Regions from separate parts of the Homo sapiens genome. Here regions 1, 2 and 3 are each linked to region 4. The links are contacts of gene promoters, found by promoter capture Hi-C in blood cells and fetal thymus (Javierre and others, 2016). All regions are on one chromosome and are shown on one strand. Each heading gives the region's core, a stretch centred on a gene start or on the middle of the fragment in contact. The rest is flanking DNA. Distances are from core to core; before and after follow the strand shown. Region 1 overlaps CHL1 (cell adhesion molecule L1 like). Region 2 has its middle 43 kb from the start of CHL1. Region 3 overlaps CHL1 (cell adhesion molecule L1 like). Region 4 holds the start of CHL1 (cell adhesion molecule L1 like).

What was found. Contacts are between HindIII fragments. The CHiCAGO score rates a contact against its expected background, and 5 or more counts as called.
Region 1: a contact is called between a fragment that was not itself captured here and the fragment with the promoter of CHL1 in region 4, in 2 of 17 cell types (naive B cells and total B cells). The highest score is 11.7, in naive B cells.
Region 2: a fragment that was not itself captured here is called in contact with the fragment with the promoter of CHL1 in region 4 in 2 of 17 cell types (total B cells and naive B cells); the score reaches 6.0 in total B cells.
Region 3: a contact is called between a fragment that was not itself captured here and the fragment with the promoter of CHL1 in region 4, in 2 of 17 cell types (naive B cells and total B cells). The highest score is 11.3, in naive B cells.

Annotation. Positions count from the first base shown.
Region 1 is chr3:253,712-258,350 of GRCh38, forward strand. All of the region lies in intron 2 of CHL1 (cell adhesion molecule L1 like), which reads left to right. Among named protein-coding and RNA genes, the nearest start is that of CHL1-AS2, 59 kb to the left of the region's middle. The HindIII fragment of the contact is 2,746 bases long and covers 1,965-4,639 here.
Region 2 is chr3:151,623-156,361 of GRCh38, forward strand. No RefSeq gene overlaps it. Among named protein-coding and RNA genes, the nearest start is that of CHL1, 43 kb to the right of the region's middle. The HindIII fragment of the contact is 1,168 bases long and covers 1,596-2,763 here.
Region 3 is chr3:238,480-242,969 of GRCh38, forward strand. All of the region lies in intron 1 of CHL1 (cell adhesion molecule L1 like), which reads left to right. Among named protein-coding and RNA genes, the nearest start is that of CHL1-AS2, 43 kb to the left of the region's middle. The HindIII fragment of the contact is 8,450 bases long and covers 1-4,490 here.
Region 4 is chr3:195,124-199,722 of GRCh38, forward strand. It overlaps CHL1 (cell adhesion molecule L1 like), which reads left to right and starts at 1,640. Exons shown (of 28, transcript NM_006614.4): 1 at 1,640-1,940. It overlaps CHL1-AS2 (CHL1 antisense RNA 2), which reads right to left and starts at 2,218. Exons shown (of 4, transcript NR_144487.1): 1 at 1,844-2,218; 2 at 1,333-1,385; 3 at 873-917; 4 at 635-791. The HindIII fragment of the contact is 3,854 bases long and covers 1-3,811 here.

The DNA of each region.
Region 1 (4,639 bases), core at 2,088-4,587, 60 kb after region 4:
TCTATTTGAACAAAAACTTGCAGTACTCTTTCTTCAGCTGTTGGAAAACCTCTACCACCTACTAGGTTCTCAGTAAATATTGGACGAATAAATGGATAAAAAGAGAAAGAAAGTGACACTTTTCTAAAAGTGCTCCTGAATTAAAATTGCATCTGTATTTCTTCCTGAATAGACTAGAAAAGGACACAAATTTAACATTTATTGAGAACTTACACTGAGCTAGCCATCATGTTAGATATTATATACATTTTGAACTTGATGATATTATCTCCATTTTACGAATGCACAAATGGAGGGACAAAGAGCTAAAGTCAAATTGGTGGCCTCCTGGTTCTCTGCTCAGACCGACCTTTGAGAACCAGCTGCTTCCCCAGCTGCTGGGATGTGTCCAGTAGCTAGCACTTAACATGTTAGCCCTGCTTTAGGGATTGCCTCAGTGGAAGAGAGTACTCCTTTGTGCAATGTCATGTCCCCTTTCCAGGGAAGCCCACATCTAATGCCTATAAAGGCCCAACACCATCAGCTCAGCTCTGGACAACTCCTGCTTCCGAACACCCCTTTCCCATAAATTGATCTCACATCCCTCACTAATAAACAAGACTCTTCTTCCCAGGGAAACCAACCTGCTATGGTAATTTTCAAATATCTCTGCCCAAGCTAGTGACATGGCCTCTCTAAGGAGGTAAAGTGGGCTGATACCCACTGAAACTGGGAGAAGTATAGTTCCAAGGTATGATCTGAGAAAGGGCTAGGTATTTTCTAGGGTCTTAAAGATAGGTTTTTTAGCTGGGATACAGGGAGCTTGTGATGAGATGATTGTCAGGGCAGCAGACATCAGACTATGCAGGGCCTTATAAGCCACGTATCTTGGTGCTTTTGTGCTGCTATAATAGAATACCACAGACTGGATACCTTGTGGATAGTAGAAATTTATGTCTCACAGTTCTGGAGGTTGGAAAGTCCAAGATCAAGGCATCAGCATCTGGTGAGGGCCTTCTCGATGCTTCCTTCAGAGTGGAGGTAGCCATGCCTCACATATTGGAAAGTGGAAAGGCAAGCTAGCTAAATCCTGCATGAAGCCTCTTCTAAGGCCTTTCTGAGGGCCTTAATCCCATTCATGAGGGAGGAGCCCTTCTGACCTAATCACCTCTTAAAGGCCCACCAGTTAATACTATCACATTGACCATTAAGTCTCAACACTTGAATTTGGGAAGGGATGCATTCAAACCCTACCATCATGCAAAGAAGCCAAAGTTATATTTCCTATTGTCCCTACCCTTTCCTCAGATACCAGGATTTGCCTATCTCCATCTCTAGCTACAATTGTTCTGAATTTTGGGGCCCGTTTTTGCTGCATGAATTTGTATTTGAATTCAAGACTTGAAAGATTAATTTTCCTTTCAGAATGTTATTCATATACCCCTTCATTCTTAACCTGCTCACTGGTTTCCTACCATAATTACAGTCTCAAACAGTGGTTGCATTCTGGCAAAACGATGTTTTGAGTTAGAGTTGTTATGCAGTTAGTCAGTTGTTTGTAGTTAAAAAGTCTCTTTCTTATTCACTGAAATGACTGGAGTCCCAGCTGCTAGGATTCAAAGGCAACAGGGAAGACTTCCTAGAGTTTCATGTGATCATAAAAACCTTTCCAGACGTTTTAAGTGATTATGATTTCTATGCTGCATTGACTTACAATTAGAGATCATTCAAGTAACTTAGAATTCAGTAACTTCTAGGTCACAGAGAGGCTCAGATACACACTGTTGACAGCCTTTTGGTGTCTTTGTATGTGTGTGTGTGTGTATACATACATACACACTAAACTGTACTGCTGTATGTGTGGGAAAAAGTCTAAATACTAAGCATTTTTATTCTATTTTGGGCAAGTATCTGTGCTCAATGGATGCAAGTTGGTATCTAAAATCTAAAAAATGCAAAGATAAATGGATCATCTGTGTACTTCAAGCTTTATTTTCTTGCATAGTTTTTTCCTAGTATTTCCTGACAACCTAGAACAGTAGTTCTCGCCTTTGACTGCCTATTGCCATTGCCCGTAGCATATTTTAGATCTAAGGATCCCTGGACAGATACTCTAACTCAGTGGATGGAGCCCAGGTAGCTGTTTTGTTTGTCGTGGTAGTTGCTCTTTTTAATGTCTACCCATTGTCCTGTAAGACAACTAGGGTTGTGAACCATCGGTTTTTTACACTATCTAAAAGGAAGGTGTCTGTGGATTGAGGATATTTCTTACCTTGCCTACTTCCACACTTTCAACTTTCTAAAATTCCTGGGATTCATGCTCCCATTCCCCAAAGAATAGTGAGTTACCTATAATTATCTACAGCATCTATCAATAATGCCTTTAGTTCCTCACTTTGAGTTCTGCTTAGAGCTAAACATATTCTAAGCGAAGTAAGGAGGTTTCATGCTTCTGTGTATGCATAAGTGTGCCTGACAAAGAGATGAAACATGAAAGTGAAACAATACTGATAAATGAAATTTAAAAATATAGTATGACTTTGATAGGTAGTCTGTATTCTGGCACTTCATGAAATCTCCAAATTATTGTATATTACCATAGCATGCAATTTTTACTTATAGCATGGTAAAGCAGAGCTCCTCCTTTTGAGTGATGTACAGCTATTGCACCACTCTAAGTGGTAACTTAACACAGAATAAATATGAATAGAATTATCTAGAGTTGTACAACTCAGTACCTTTGGTTTGGACCAGAGAAAAAGGCCTTAGAGTAGTGGTTTTCAACCAGGAGTGATTTCGCCCTTCAGGAGCATTTGGTAACATTTGGAAATATTTTTAGCTGTTAACGCTAATGAGGGAGAGACTTGCACCTGGTCAGTAGAGGCCAAAGATGCTGCTACATGTTCTGCAACACTCAGGACAACTGAATGCCCAAAAAGAATTATCTTGCCCCAAATGGAATCATGCTGAGGTTGAGAAACTCTGGCTTAGAGAATTGTATTAGTCATCCTGGCCCATAAAATTCCCATGAAAATTTGGGAACGAGGGGAGGATTCATATGTATCTTTTTGGTATTGTATTTCTGGCGCCTGGGAGCTTGCTCAGCATGCAGTAGTTGCTAAATATGTTTTTGGATGACTGAGTGATGGCATGATTTGAATCAGACAACATTATTTTACCAGCCTTGGAATCTGGGCAAAAGTGGGCTGCTTAGGAGCAAAGACACGAGTCTGTGTATTTCTGTGGTTGCCTTTCCATGGAAATTCCCATTCAAGGGGATACCTAATATGTAAGGATTAAAGATGCCTCCTCCATGGATTTTCCATGGTGTCTCACATTCTCTAATTAGTTATTCCTTAAAGTTTTGTCCACCTGTGTATCTTTAGTGGTATGGCTTCATGTCACCTCAAATATGGAGGCATTAGCTTTGTTTAGTTCAGTATATACCAGATTATGGGATGGAAAATACTGAAGGGATATCAAATGATCATACGTAATCTAAGATATAATTAAATAATAAACTTACATAAAGCATTTAAAAAAAATTTAGTTCTCTTTCCCTTAATTCTTTCAATATTTCAGGTAGAGTCAAAGGCTGGTTTTGTGCTATCATGATTTTATAACTAATTTTTAACACCATCTCCTTTTCTTCTTTTCTTCTTCTTTTTTTTTTTTTTTTGTGAGACAGAGTCTCTCTCTGTAGTCCAGGCTGGAGTGCAGTGGCACCACCTCGGCTCACTGCAACCTCCGCCTCCCGGGTTCAAGCAATTCCCCTGCCTCAGCCTCCCAAGTAGCTGGGATTACAGGTGCCTGCCACCATGCCTGGCTAATTTTGCATTTTTAGTAGAGATGGGGTTTCACCATGCTGACCAGGCTGGTCTCAAATTCCTAACCTCAGGTGATCTACTGCCTCGGCCTCCCTAAGTGCTGGGATTACAAGTGTGAGCCACTGTGCCTGGCTCTCTTTTTCATAAAGAGACAGCAAACCTCAAAATCAGAGATTCAGCTTGCCACAGGTCTATTTAAAATTGTTTTTATTTCAATTCATGTATTTTTTATGTAAAGTAGTGTTGATTTCCTGTTTATAGCAGTGGAGAACATATTAAGATATTTTAATTTAAATAGAAAAGTAAGCCAATTACAAATAAGTGCAAGTAGCGTACAGATATGAAAAAAATCATAATCATGTCACTTAAATAGGCGAAGAAATCATTGAATTTATTTGTTTTGTTAACATTGTCTCATCTTGAAGGAGAAGATGGAATCTGGAGATTGCAGCTTGAATGGCTCCGGAAGAGGCAGCATGTTCGGTGGATTGGATGTGTTTGCATAACTGTGGGACCACATGGGAGGTGACGCAGGAAGGCTGAAAGAGGACAGTCTCCAAAGGAGGGAGCAAACCTTGAAAACACCTGCAGGGCCCTTTTAATGGCCAACTGCATCAATTTAAAACGTTCACTTGCTCCCCCATGGCTGTCTGTCCAGGCAGAAGCAACATGACCTCTGGTTTGAAAGGCCTCTCAGATTAAGAGAGAATATTGTGTCTTGGGGAAATCAATCATATTATTATGAATCATAGAATTATGAGTCATGTGTTATAGGTTGTTTCAGGCAACAAGACCTCAGATGTCCTTCACTTCAACCACTCTTGGGATACTGA
Region 2 (4,739 bases), core at 930-3,429, 43 kb before region 4:
ACCATCCCACCCCTATGCCTCACCACGTCTTATCTGCAGTAGACTCAACTTTCCCAGTACTTCAACCACTTTCACCATTTCATGTAGAATGTTTTCTTTTCTACTTTTTTTTTCTTTATTGGGGGAGGGGATGGGGTTTACTTTGTCACCCAGCTTGGAGTGCAGTGGTGCCATCACTGCTCACTGCAGCCTTAACCTCCCAGGCTCAAGCAATCCTCTTGCCTCAGCCTCAGCTGGGTCTACAGGCATGCACCTGGCTACTTAAAAAAAAAAAAAGGTAGGCTGGTCTTGAACTACTGGCCTCAAGCATTTCTCCCACCTTGGCCTCCCAAAGTACTGGGATTACAGGCATGAACCACCACAATCAGTCTACGATGTTTTCTTGAATTGCTTTTGCTTTCATTTTGGCTTCTTCTCAGTATTTCTGTAACTTTTACTTTTTATATCTCTTTAACAATGTGGTATCTTAACCAAAACATAAAATTGAAATACTATATGCAAAACTGATAAAAATAAAAGAACTTGATAATATTGGCTGGGCATGGTGGCTCACCCCTGTAATCCCAGCTACTCAGGAGGCTGAGGCAGGAGAGTCACTTGAACCCGGGAGGCGGAGATTGCAGTGAGCCGAGATTGCGCCACCGCACTCCAGCCTAGGTGACAGAGTGAGACTCCATCTAAACAAAAAACAAAACAGAACAAACAAACCCCCCCCCCCAAAAAAAAGAACTTGTCAATATCACAATGAATATTATTTTCCTTTTAGAAACTGACATATCTAATTGACAATATAACTGAGTGAGGAAAGTGAATATGAATAATAGGATTAATATGCTTCATACAACTAATATGTATAACTTAATTGTTTTTAACTCTAAAAAGCAATAAATAATATATTCTAAAACACATTTTAAACTGACAAAAGGTGATCTTTATTAGGACAAAAATAAAAATCTCAATATAGTCTCCAAAAGAGAAATGATATAGACTTAAAATTGAATAAAGTGGTAATAAAGTTAGACAATTAAAAACTGAAGAATCATCAAATATCATGCCTTGAAAGATTATAATAAACACACACTTCTAAATAAGTCTTGAAAAAATGAAACACATTTATATGTGTGTGTGTGTGTTTATATAAACGAAGTTTCTAATTATTTGGAAATGTAAAGTATTAAGAGCACTACAACACCCCTTGTAGAAAGAAGCCAAGGTTGCATCAAGAAAAACATTTATAATGTTAAGAGCAAACACAGATAAGAGAAAAAATTTAAAAATAACATAAGTATAAAGTAACTTTAGAAAGGTAGGAGTGCAACAAAAGAAAATGAACCGAGTGGGTGCATTAATAAAGGTAAAAGTGTAGATTAATCACACTATATAAAATGGAATGCCCCCACAAGAATATGAGACACCATCTGCCATCGATAAGGACAAAGTATGTCCCTTCAGGGTCTAAATTTGCTGGAGCCTTTGGTCACATTTTTGTTAGATCCCAGGATATTGTTGTTCTATATGTTGTAAACAGAAACAACCATAGTGAATCTTCAATTGGTATTTTTTTTTGTCGTATTTTAACACCAACATACGGGGAAAGCTTAGAAACAAGTGTCCTGTCTGTTAATGAATTTTAAACCTCAGGGATTTCAGTTGTTAAAGACCTTCCTTTATTATCAGCCATGAAAATTAGTATTCAGAAAGAATTTTGAAAACCAATTATTCTTAAGTTTGATAATCATGAATTGGGGGATGAATTTTTAACAATCATTGTCCCAAAGATATTACCACAAATACATTGGTGCTATTAAATACTTTTATGTATCTATTTCCCTTCTCAAAAGGCCTTCCTTTAAGCCACTTTTCCTACAGAGACATTTCACTTTAACATGAAAGTCATAGTGTGTCTCCTCTAGAATATTCGCAGATGATTGTCTTCATTTATCAGGAACACATATTTAAACAGTTTGCACTATTTCAGTTTTCCTTGTGAAGCAGAAGTATTCATCATACCAGTTGAGGCTTATATTACCCTGTAGCAAAGCGATTTATCATATCCCTACATCAGCAACTTCTTTGATTATTAAAATTCTCTTGCAGAGGTACACTTAGTTGCACACAAGCTGCTGTCTAATGAATTTTCTTTATTATTTGACCTGAAGTTCAGGGAATCTGCATATTAAGACATATTATTCAAAAGCAGTGATAGAGCATGCAGAACCAGATTAATTAAACTCATAGCTGGAAATACTTTAGCAGAATTTAATACTTGGCATATGTAAGCGAACAACCCTCAGGAAATACCAGTGTGAATCATTTTTTCTCCTTTAGAAACAATTTTTATTTCCTAAATTTGGTCTGCTATAAAATGGTAATTTGTGAAGCTCCAGAATTATTGGTTCAATTTTGAATAGTAATTATAACTAAGGGTATGTGTAATTGACTCAAGTTACTAATGACCACCCTTTTCCTAATTATTCAATATTATTTCAGTTAATATTTATTAAGCATTCTTTTGTCAGCCTGACACTGTGCTGGTTTCTTTCAGAGATGTCAAAGAGGTTTACACATTTCTTCTGGCTTCAAGGAGTTTGTAATCTAACTGGAGAGGGAAGACTCATCCATTGAAACTATATGGGCATCTAATTTCTCCTCCATGTGATATCTCTAATAGCCAGCCAGGTTTAGATTTATTATCCAAAAAACATGATTTCAGGTTTCCAAAGGTAGCCAAAAGGATCACACCTCAATGTTCAATTCTTTTCAAGCTTCTGCTTGCATCATGGTGGCTAACAACCTATTGGACAAGACAAGTGACACAGTCATGCCCAGATTTGAGGGGTAGAGAAATAAACTGCACCTCTTGATGATGGAATGGCAAAAGGTCCTGCATAAAGAGATAATGTATCCATCTTTGAGAGCCTCCCATTACAATTAAACCAGAATTTCTGGAGTGGAATAAGGACAGAGAATTTTTTAAAAAGCATTTTAGGTGACTCCAGTATGTAACCAATTTGAGGGCCAGCTGTTTTGACCAGTTCTTCTCAAACTCTGGTGTGCATCAGAATCACCTGGTAATCTTGTTAAACTACAGATTTGTGAACCCATCCCCAGGGACACTGATTCAACATCTGTGGAGTTAGGGACTGACACTTTGCAGCGCTAACAAGCTCCCAGGTGATGCTGATGCTACAGGTGCTTTATCTACATTTTGATTAGCATTAATTTAAACCACGGTGCAAAGTTAATTATATGTATGATATGTAATAAGTTTCTATTCATTTGGCTGAGTTCCTGTGAACAGTTTGTCAATTTTACAAGTTGGAAAAGTTAAATCTCCCACATCATACACAGGGACCAATCTTATCATATGACCAGGAAAATGGGGAGAAGTCCTTCATCAGCAGTTCAAAGTTAAGTATTTGAGCATCATAGGACACTTGATACTGTCCCTGCATTAATCTCCTGCCTTGTTTCTTGTAACTCACTTCCTGGGCTCCCGCTATGCATCTTTTTTCATCCTACTACTGCACTATGGCTGTTTTATTCTTGGTACACCCGATCCATCCCTCTGTTCCCAAATGGGAATTGAGATCTTGCCTTGTTCTCCACACTGATTTAAAGAACTAAGCCTTCCCAGCAGCTTTCTGCCACTAGATTTTATACATCCAACCTGCCAACTTCATATTGTATTTGCCTTCTGGTTTTTTCTCTTTGTGCTGGTTGTTTTCCTTTGGCTCTCCCCAGACCCACACTCCTGCCTTGTCTGCTCTATTCCTGCCTCAGAGGTTGATCTCTTATATAATATATTGCATCACTGGGGATTTCTTGCTGCCTGGTTTCCTGTACACAAGTGGTTCTCAGAGTAAAGTTCCTGGACCACCAGCAGCATTACCATCACTTGGAAACTTTTTTCATTAGAACTGCAAATTTTGCTGGACATGGTGGCTTATGCTTGTAATCCTAGCACTTTGAGAGGCTGAAGCAGGAGAATTGCTTGAGGCCAGGAGTTCAAGACCAGCCTGGGCAACATAGCAAGATCCCCATCTCTACAAAAAAAAAAAAAAAGGAAAAGAAAAAAAAGAAAATTAAATAGAACTAAAAATTTTGGGGCACCACGTCAAGGCTAGTAAATCAGAAACTCTGTAGGTGAGGCCCAGCAATCTATATTTCAACCAGTCTTTCTGAGGACTCTGATGCATGCTAAAGTTTGAAAACCACTGACATAGGATATAGCTGATGCCAGTCACTGGCAGGTCTATGTACAGACAGAGAGAGTAGAAGGTCTGTTTCTCCCCTTGATTCCTTCCTGCTCTGGGCTGCATTTTCTTACAGAGTTTGCATGCCTCCACAACTTAAAGCTCTTACCAGGCAGCCTTTCCTCCAAAATTGCATTTCACTCTGGTCTCCAATAATATTATTTCCTCCTCTCCATGCTTCAAGCTTAAGAGTTGTAACAGCTTCCTGCCATTGCTATGGTCTAGGCCTCAACATCCGTTTTTGTTTTCTTTAACTTACGTACATATCAGTAAATATTCTCATTCTTAATGTCTCCTAAACTTTTGATTACATTCTGTTTCCTGCTGGCACCCTCAGGTACTGCTGCCCGTGAATTTCCTTTTCCTAGCCTTCTTTATCCTGAGTCCTCTCACCCAAGATCTAGCTCAGATCATGATGATTAATAAAGTTGGGATAAATGTTACTTACATAAAGGTGTGGTTTCTTATAAAGGCAATCTTGAG
Region 3 (4,490 bases), core at 1-2,500, 43 kb after region 4:
CATTTTTTGTCAACATATGTGTATTAAGCAACCAATATTTGGCAATCTGACAGCAATTGTGCTTGAGTACTAGGAAGGCAAAAATTAATAAGATCATTTTTCCCCGACCTGGACTTAAGGAACTCAAAATCTTGCATAAAACATTGTAAAGAAACCCTTTTCTGGCCAGGTACAGTGGCTCACGCCTATAATCCCAGCACTTTGGGAGGCCGAGGTGGGTGGATCACCTGAGGTCAGGAGTTCGAGACCAGCCTAGCTAACATGGTGAAACCCCGTCTCTACTAAAAATACAAAAAAAAAAAAAATAGCTGGATGTGGTGGCGGGTGTCTGTAATCCCAGCTACTCAGGAGGCTGAGGCAGGAGAATTGCTTGAACCCAGGAAGCAGAGGTTGCAGTGAGCCAAAATCGCGCCATTGCACTCCAGCCTGGGTGACAAGAGCAAGACTTCTAAAACAACAAACAAACAAAACAAAACAAAAAATCTTTTTTTTTTGTCTTGTGAGAATAAGGCATGTAGCTGCTCACACATGTAGCTTATATAGCAGCTGTCAAGGTTCATATGCTACCACGTGGGGTACTGTGTGATTTCCTCCTGATGGCTGAGTTGAGTGGGGACTGTCAAGTAGGGGGAACCCGGAGACTGATCTCAAGTGTCCCTCCCGGCTTCACTGGACATCATCAATCAGAACAGTGATGTGGCTGCTGCTACCGCAGCTGCCCCTTGCTTATCACAGAGCACCGGCTAGATCTCAGCCTAGTGCTAAGCAATTTTTGCATGTTAGTACCATTCCTCCAAGCCATTCTGCAAAACAGATACTATTATCCCTTATTTACCAATGAGACAACTAGAGTTCTAAAAGGCTACTTGATTAGCTTACGATCGCACAACAAGTAAGTGCACACTTGCTCCGTTTTCAGTCTGTCTGTCCCTTTTTTCTCTGCTGCAGCATCTCTTTTGACAGACACTGTGGTGGTAATGTGCTCCCTCCTGCTCCATGAAGCTATGACATTCATACTTGTGACTGTAAGGTGAAGGAACTATGAATACTACTATTAATTGATATGTGTAGCTTTAATGCATTCATTCTTTAATTCATCTAAACAGTATATATATAAAATATATATATTTTAAAATTATTTTTTCATAGGCTTTTGGGAAACGGGTGGTATTTGGTTGCGTAAGTTCTTTTATGCTGATTTGTGAGATTTTGGTGCACTCATTACCCAAGCAGTATACAATGAACCCAATTTGTAGTCTTTTATCCCTCACCCCACTCCCACCCTTTCCCCCAAGTCCCCAAAGTCATTCTTATGCCTTTGCATCCTCATAGCTTAGCTCCCACTTAAGAGTGAGAACATAGGATTTTTGGTTTTCCATTCCTCAGTTACTTCACTTAGAATAATCGTCTCCAGCTCCATCCAGGGTGCTGTGAATGCGGTTAATTTCCTCCTTTCATGGCTGAGTAGTATTCCATCATATATATTTACCACAATTTCTTTATCCACTTGTTGATTGATGGACATTTGGGCTGGTTCCACATTTTTGCGATTGCGAATTGTGCTGCTATAAACATGCATGTGCAAGTACCTTTTCTGTGTAATGACTTCTTTTCCTCTGGGTAGATACCCAGTAGTGGGATTGCTGAATCAAATGGTAGAGCTACTTTTAGTTCTGTAAGGAATCTCCGTACTGTTTTCCATAGTGGTTGTGCTAGTTGACATTCTCACCAGCAGTGTAGAAGTGCTCCCTTTCCATTGCATCCACACCAACATCCACTATTTTTTAAATTTTTTTCATTATGGCCATTCTTGCAGGAGTCAGGTGGTACAGAGATGTAGTTTTGATTTGCATTTCCCTGATCATTAGTGATGTTGAGCATTTTTTTTCTTATGTTTGTTGGCCATATGTATATCTTCTTTTGAGAATTGTCTATTCATGTCCTTAGCCCACTTTATGATGGGATTTTTTGTTTTTTTCTTGCTAATTTGTTTGAGTTCCTTGTAGATTCTGGATGTCAGTCCTTTGTTGGATGTATAGATTGTGAAGATTTTCTCCCACTCTGTGGGTTGTCTATTTATTCTGCTGACTGTTCATTTTGCTGAGCAGAAGCTCTTTAATTAAGTCCCACCTATTTATCTTTGTTTTTGTTGCATTTGCTTTTGAATTCTTGGTCTTGAAGCCTTTGCCTAAGCCAATGTCTAGAAGAGTTTTTCTGACGTTATCTTCTAGAATTTTTATAGGTATCGGGTCTTATATTTAAGTCCATGATCCCTCTTGAGTTGATTTTTGTATAAGGTAGGAGATGAGGATCCAGTTTCATTCTCCTACATGTGGCTTGCGAATTATCGCAGCATCATTTGTTAAATAGGGTGTTCTTTCCCCCACTTTATGTTTTTGTTTGCTTTGTAGAAGATCAGTTGGCTGTAAGTATTTGGGTTTATTTCTGGGTTCTCTATTCTGTTCCATTGGTCTATGTGCCTAGTTTTATACAAGTACCATGCTGTTTTGGTGATTATGGCCTTATCCAAAGAGTATATATTATGTTTTATTATGGTGCCAGGCAGTGACATTGGTACAACTAATATATGCCCTTATGGAACTCAAGATTTCTTATGTTAAATACAGAATAAAGGAAGTAGGAATATTTATAGCTGTTAGGCCTTTAGTTAATTTTGTCTAGATGGAGTTTCAAATTACTTATGATTTGTTGTCAGTTCAGTGCATAAGGAGAAATTTATCTTATAAATAGCTTAGAAAGGAGTCATGTCATAAAATGACATGTCTCAAAATGTCTTGTGAAGCCAAGTTTTCTTCCAGCATGGCAAGCAATCACCATTTCTCTTGCTGAGCATCTAATGAAGTCATAGGTTTGATGTAGAGGGTATGTTGTGTGAAAAGTACTACTTTGAAATATTAGATAACTTCAGAGTCACAACATGCTCATATTCAGAAAACAAGTGACCCTGACTTCCGCTGATCCGCAGCTCTCATATTACACCAGCCATGGGTAGGTTGTTTGCTGAGTGTACCCTCATAACCCAGTTTTTACTGTATCTTGCTCTTCAGCAAGTGCTGTTTCTCCTTCCAGTATACTTCTCTCTGGTTTTTTTTTTTACTTTGCCTCAAGTCAGTAGAGTTTAATTTAACTAGTTTTTTTGTGCATATACTATATTTTCTTTCAGTCATACTTTTTAAATCTTAGTTACAAAGCACACAACCAATAAGGACCCAAATGTTGTTTCGCCTTAAATTACTTTCTTTTTAATATTTTCTTTTTAATATTCCTCTCCATTCTTGTTTTACATTTGGTGGGTATATTTATTTGTATCTCTTAAGTAAAAGAAACTAAGGGACTTTGAAAAAAAAACAACTTTTCACTAATAACAGAGAATAAGTAAGACGTTAGTATCTATGTCAATGGTGGTGAGGGAAAGGGTAAATGCTTTCTAGAGTAAATAAATTCAAAGGATTGTATGTCATGTTAATATAACAAAAACAAAATTAGAAAGACGTTTTCTTAGATTATAGTAGTGTATTGTGTATATACCCTTATCTAATAGTGTTTGAGTCTATCCCTCCACTATATGTATATCCTAAATTGTACAGAGACACTAGTATGCTAAAATTTATCATAAGAAAAGATTAAAAGGAGAGAAATGTTTAAAAATGAGATGAAAAACCATAAGTACATGTGTGTGTATGTATATATATATGTGTGTGTATATATTTCCATATTTCTTGTTTCATTCTAAAGGATGGTCTGTGCATCTCTTTCCAGAGATCATGCACCTACAACATGAAGGAATGAAAGAAAACCTAATAATACAGAGACTGGCTGAGCGCGGTGGCTCACGCCTGTAATCCCAGCACTTTGGGAGGCTGAGGGGGGCAGATCACGAGGTCAGGAGATCGAGACCATCCTGGCTAACACGGTGAAACCCCGTCTCTACTAAAAATACAAAAAATTATCCCGGCGTGGTGGTGGGCGCCTGTAGTCCCAGCTACCTGGGAGGCTGAGGCAGGAGAATGGCTTGAACCAGGGAGGCAGAGCTTGCAGTGAGCCGAGATTGTGCCACTGCACTCCAGCCTGGGTAACAGAGTGGGACTCCATCTCAAAATAAATAAATAAAATAAAATAAAATAAAATAATACAGAGATAATTCTTCATTTACAATAAACACTAAGAACACATGCACACAAACACACACACACACACAGAGAGAGAGAGAGATTAGATTAGTAGCAAGGAACTTACATACATGATTAATGTGAATGCCTTCTGAACCAAAGCTGAAGGAAGCAGATGAGAGCTCTGTGGGCGTAGGCTGCTGCTGTGAGCATACAAATAAGTTTGATCATAGCTACAGTCTCCATGCCTAATGTCAAACAACTGTCTTGAAAATCCTAAGTGAGAGTGGGGTGGGTAATTCAGCACAAGTACTGATCTCTGTTGTCATGAATGTCCTTGACAGTGGTAAGAAGTGGGGA
Region 4 (4,599 bases), core at 390-2,889:
TTAAGAACTGGCCATCTTCTTGTTTTGGGTATTGTGGCTTGGTACTGTCTAATATATTTGGAGGGTATTTGATTTTTTAAAAAGCTACTGGCCATGCCTATTGAGTTTCCTACTGAGCCCAGCACCCAGACCAGTGATTGATTAAATAGTAGCTGCTCAATAAATATTTGTTTTGTAAATAATGATTCTATTGTCAAGAAACAAATCACCAAGAAAGAAGGAGCTATATATTTAAGAGTACTCTGTTCATCTGGCCAAAATGGAGTTCCGAGTCCCTTGCTCAGCTGATGTTTGTTCACCCAGAAGATGGTAAACTCCTGAGACCAACTTCGCTTTGTTGTTCTCTTGTGGTTCCTTGACCTTGGAAATGTTTTTCTACAGGCAGAGTATTTCCCCCTGTTGGAATTTTATTTAATATTCTATCTTTGTTTCTACTTTAGAAAACATGCCACGTGAATAATGATGCCTCAGGCAAAAGAAATCACTCCAGCAGTACAATTTAAACTTAGGACAAATCCTGCCCTCACTTGCATTCACAATTTGCCAAGGCAGTTGGTAAGAACTGTGCCCACACACAAATTGACAGAATCGAGGCCCCAAGGTTAGCGATGATTAAAATTTAAAAGTCCATTCATTCATTTTCAAAATATTTTATTCGATTGCTTCTGAGGCAGAATCATGAGTTGCCTTCGCTTTTGCTGCTCCCGGTGGTGGCATCCAACTCTGAGGATAGCTCATCCAACTCTGAGGGTAGCTCTGAGGGGAGCTAAATATCCTCATTGTTCAATGAGCTAGATGAAAACAAAACGAGGCTGTAAGGTCAATCTCACAGCCTTAGTGGAGTAAAAATTAGAAGTCAATAATTCTCTTACCAACAAAGAGGACTTGCATTCAACAGGATTTTCAAAAGTGGTATCCTGTAAAAATTTTGGAAAATACCACCATAATGGAAAAAAAATAAAGTGGCATATAAATCAAATGTAGTGCTAAAAATTATAATTTTTCCATATGAATTTTGGAATCCTAAAATATTTTTATGTGTTTGTGGATTCATAAGGCATCAGAACTGGCTTTTTGCACTGAATATGAGTACAGAAGGCTTTCCTCTCCAATAGTGAATTAATAAAGGATAAGTAGGAAAAACGTTACGAAACGATGTGGTAACATTATAGACTCTGTATTAGGGCAAAAATTGTGAGATAGTAGAAGATCTGTAAATTTAAGCATGCACAATTTGACAGCGGATGGTCGTAGCATATTTTGTAAATTCAATAGCAAGCCCCACCACGCCCTTAAATGAAGGAAAGCAAGAAGACAATTTTTAATACGTACATGGCACCACACCCCTCTAAGACGCAGCAATGGGAGAAAAGCAGATTGGCGACCTGTGTGTGCAACATGAACCGAGTGAAACCATCGGGGAGGGGGTGGGGGGCGTTTCTTTTAAATGTCGCTTTTGCAGATAAACGAGCAGGGATCCTACCTCTTTTGACCGGAGATGTTGAAAAGCACGACCAAAGTTTTTGGCTTGGTCTCTTGCTTTCCACAACGAGATAAAGTCTGAAGCCTGTAACTCTCCCTGTCCCGCGGGAGCGTGCAAAGGGAGGGAAGATAAGCGGCGTGGGTGAGGGGTGGCGGCGCAGAACCCAGGAAGGGAGCAGAGGCGAGAGCCAGCCTCCGGCAGGAGGGCGTAGACCCCGGTGCCAGCCAGAACGGCTCCAGCCTTCCCGCGGCCAGAGAGCCAGCGGCGGGAGGGGACGGGCGGGACCTCCGCGGACAGCCCCGGGTGCGGACCAGCGGGCAGCGGCCGGCGAGACCCTCCCTGGATCCGCCCAGAGCTTACCGGACCCTGCGCGCCCCCGTCCCGGCTCCCGGCCGGCTCGGGGGAGAAGGCGCCCGAGGGGAGGCGCCGGACAGATCGCGTTTCGGAGGCGGCGCAGGTGTGTCAGGGGTGGGGGTCCGCTGGCATCTCTCGTGCCGGCGCTGGGGGGGTCTCCCGTGGAGGAAGGGCTGAAGGTGCTCCGGGAGGGGTCCACTCGTTATGGAAAGGAAGCGGGGCGCGGTCAGGGTCCCTCGTCCGCAGTGGGGGTGGTCCGGGCCCCTCAGCCTGCACCCGGGAGGAGACGCCCCCTTTTCACGCCCCGCCCCCGGTGGCCGAGGCCGGATTCGGACAGCTCGGGGTCAGTCGACGGAGCACACCGGGCGCCCGAATCCGCCGGGTCCCACTCACGCCCGCCGGCCGCCGGTAGGTTGGCCCTCCCGCTTCCAGCCTCCGCCACCCCATCCCTCGCTGCTCTCTGAGGAGGATTCCAGACCCCCCCGTAGATCTCCGCCCTCTCTCGGGTGGGGCTCCGAGGTCTAGCTGGTCTGGGGGTCAGTCCCGGCCTCTGTCTCCCACCGCGCCCCTCGCTCCCCTGGACACCGCCTGGTGTGTGGGGCTCAGACCCCCCCAGTCCACTGCCCCTGTGTGGCTCCTCCTCTCAGGAGAGGATTCTAGATCCCAGCCCGGGGGGGGTTCCGAAAATGCCGCCAGCCTGGAGCGGGGAATCCATGGACCGTGGGGTTGTGGGGTTGGGGAGCACGAAAACCCAGAGAGGGGCTAGAGCTCCACCTCCCCAGACCGCCGAGGGGCGAGAGGGCGCGCCGGGGGCCGTGGTTGCCATGGCTCCTGGTAGCGGAGCCCGGGGGGCTGGAGATGCCGGTCGCGGATGGTCCCTTCTTCCTCTTTGTGCCTCTCTCTTTCTCTCGCTTTTTTTTTTTTTTTGGAGTGTGAGTGTGCGTGGGGAGGCAGCACGGAGAAAGTGATTAATTTGGGGAGCAGGGATTGGAGCCGGGAGGCTGGGGAAAGCCAGCCCCTCCGTTCCCACTCTCCGGGCTCGCTGCGAGCCACAGTGTCTCAGCCAGGGGCAGGGCCGGGGAACTCCTGCGAAAAACCACGGGCCGGAGGAGCAGCAGCCGCGCGGGCCCAGGTACCCCCGCCCCAGACGGCCAGCAGGGTGGAGCGCAGGGTGGGCGTTTGGGCTGCTGGGCGGGAAGGCGGGCGGGGAAGGGGTGGGAGGCCGGCGGCGGAGGGCAGGTGTGCGTCGGCAGGGCTGGGTGGCCCGGCAGAGAGGGCGCCCCAGGTTCAGCCCCTCCTCGAAGGGCGCCGGCGTCCAGTCCCGCTCGTGGGAGCCGCGGAGCAGCCCCAGGGCCGGCGAGCGGCTGCCCTGCCAGGCGCGTGCGCGAGGGCGCGCTCCCGCGGGAACGCGCCGTGCGCGGGGAGATTTGCGCGTGCGCGTGGCGATGGTAACTGGTGGGCCCCCCGGGCTCGCTCTAGGCGGAGGCTCCCGGGACGCCCACGTGGCTTCGAATTCCAGCTCCACCATCACTGTGATGCGTCACTCTGGACTAGGCATTTAACTACGTGCCTCAGTTTCCCTTTCTCAATAATACGGAGATTATCGATACCCTCTATACTGGGTTGTTGCAAGACTGGAATGAGATGATACAAGTAATTTAACACCATAGATTTTTAAATTTAACACCATATGCATATTTGATGCATAATAAGCACTCAAAAGTTATTGTCGTTGATGCCATTACTGTTAGTTAATCCTCAGTTTAATTACATATGGTGCATTTTCATTTCTCTGCATTTTCATTGAAGTAAAAATTCTGCGTTTTCTAATTTTGGAGAATAATCTTAATTAAAATATGAATATTTGTACTGCACAGTCCAACTCCTACGAAGCTCTGCCTTGCAGCAGATTGGAAGAGAGAAACTGATCAACTGCCGATGAAGTTGGCTTTTCAGTATATTGATGGAGAGAGAAGCTTAGGAAGCTCTTTGGGGAAACTTTTGGTGACAAGAAAATAAAAAGTTTATCCCAGAGTTTTTCTTTTGTAAATCTTTGTGTTTTCTCTTTCACCTGCAGATGTTGCAGTTGGGTTTGTCTTAATTTCAGTCTCTTTGTGAGGGACCACCATTTGGCTTTCATAATTTAACGTGGTTACAGAGCCTATGTATACCCTGGCTTTCCATTTTATGGCCTTAAGTGCTGCAGTGGATTTACCTTTAGTAATGGCAGAACGTAGTGTATAATCATTCCTTGCAAGCTCCTGAATATTGTGAGCAAATCAATGGAGACAAATAGTTATTACTGGATGGGTGTGAGTACTGGCTATGGCAACTCATTAAAATCTCTTTCAGGGTATGTTTGTACCCACTTCACTGCAGCACAAGACTATGATGATGAATATATGTTTCCCAGATTGTTATCTGTTGCATGTAGACTTACGGATCCTTTTCTTCAAAGAAACGGCTATAGATATTTATTGATTCCTCATGGTTATATAGGTCCTCCAACCTATCTGCTGATAAGTACACTGTACACTTCGTGGGCCTAGCTGTAGGTCTAAGAGGAGTTGATTTTGCACATACTATACTTATTGCATTTAAGTTAATTCATCTCATTACATGAATTGGTTTTAAATAAATTTTTAAAATCATTTGATTATTAAAATATAGGCATTTCTTGGTGAACTTGAGGCAAGTAAAGCCTGACAGATGTCACCATCACAAAGATCCTTAGTGACCTTTACAAAATAGAGCTCACCCAG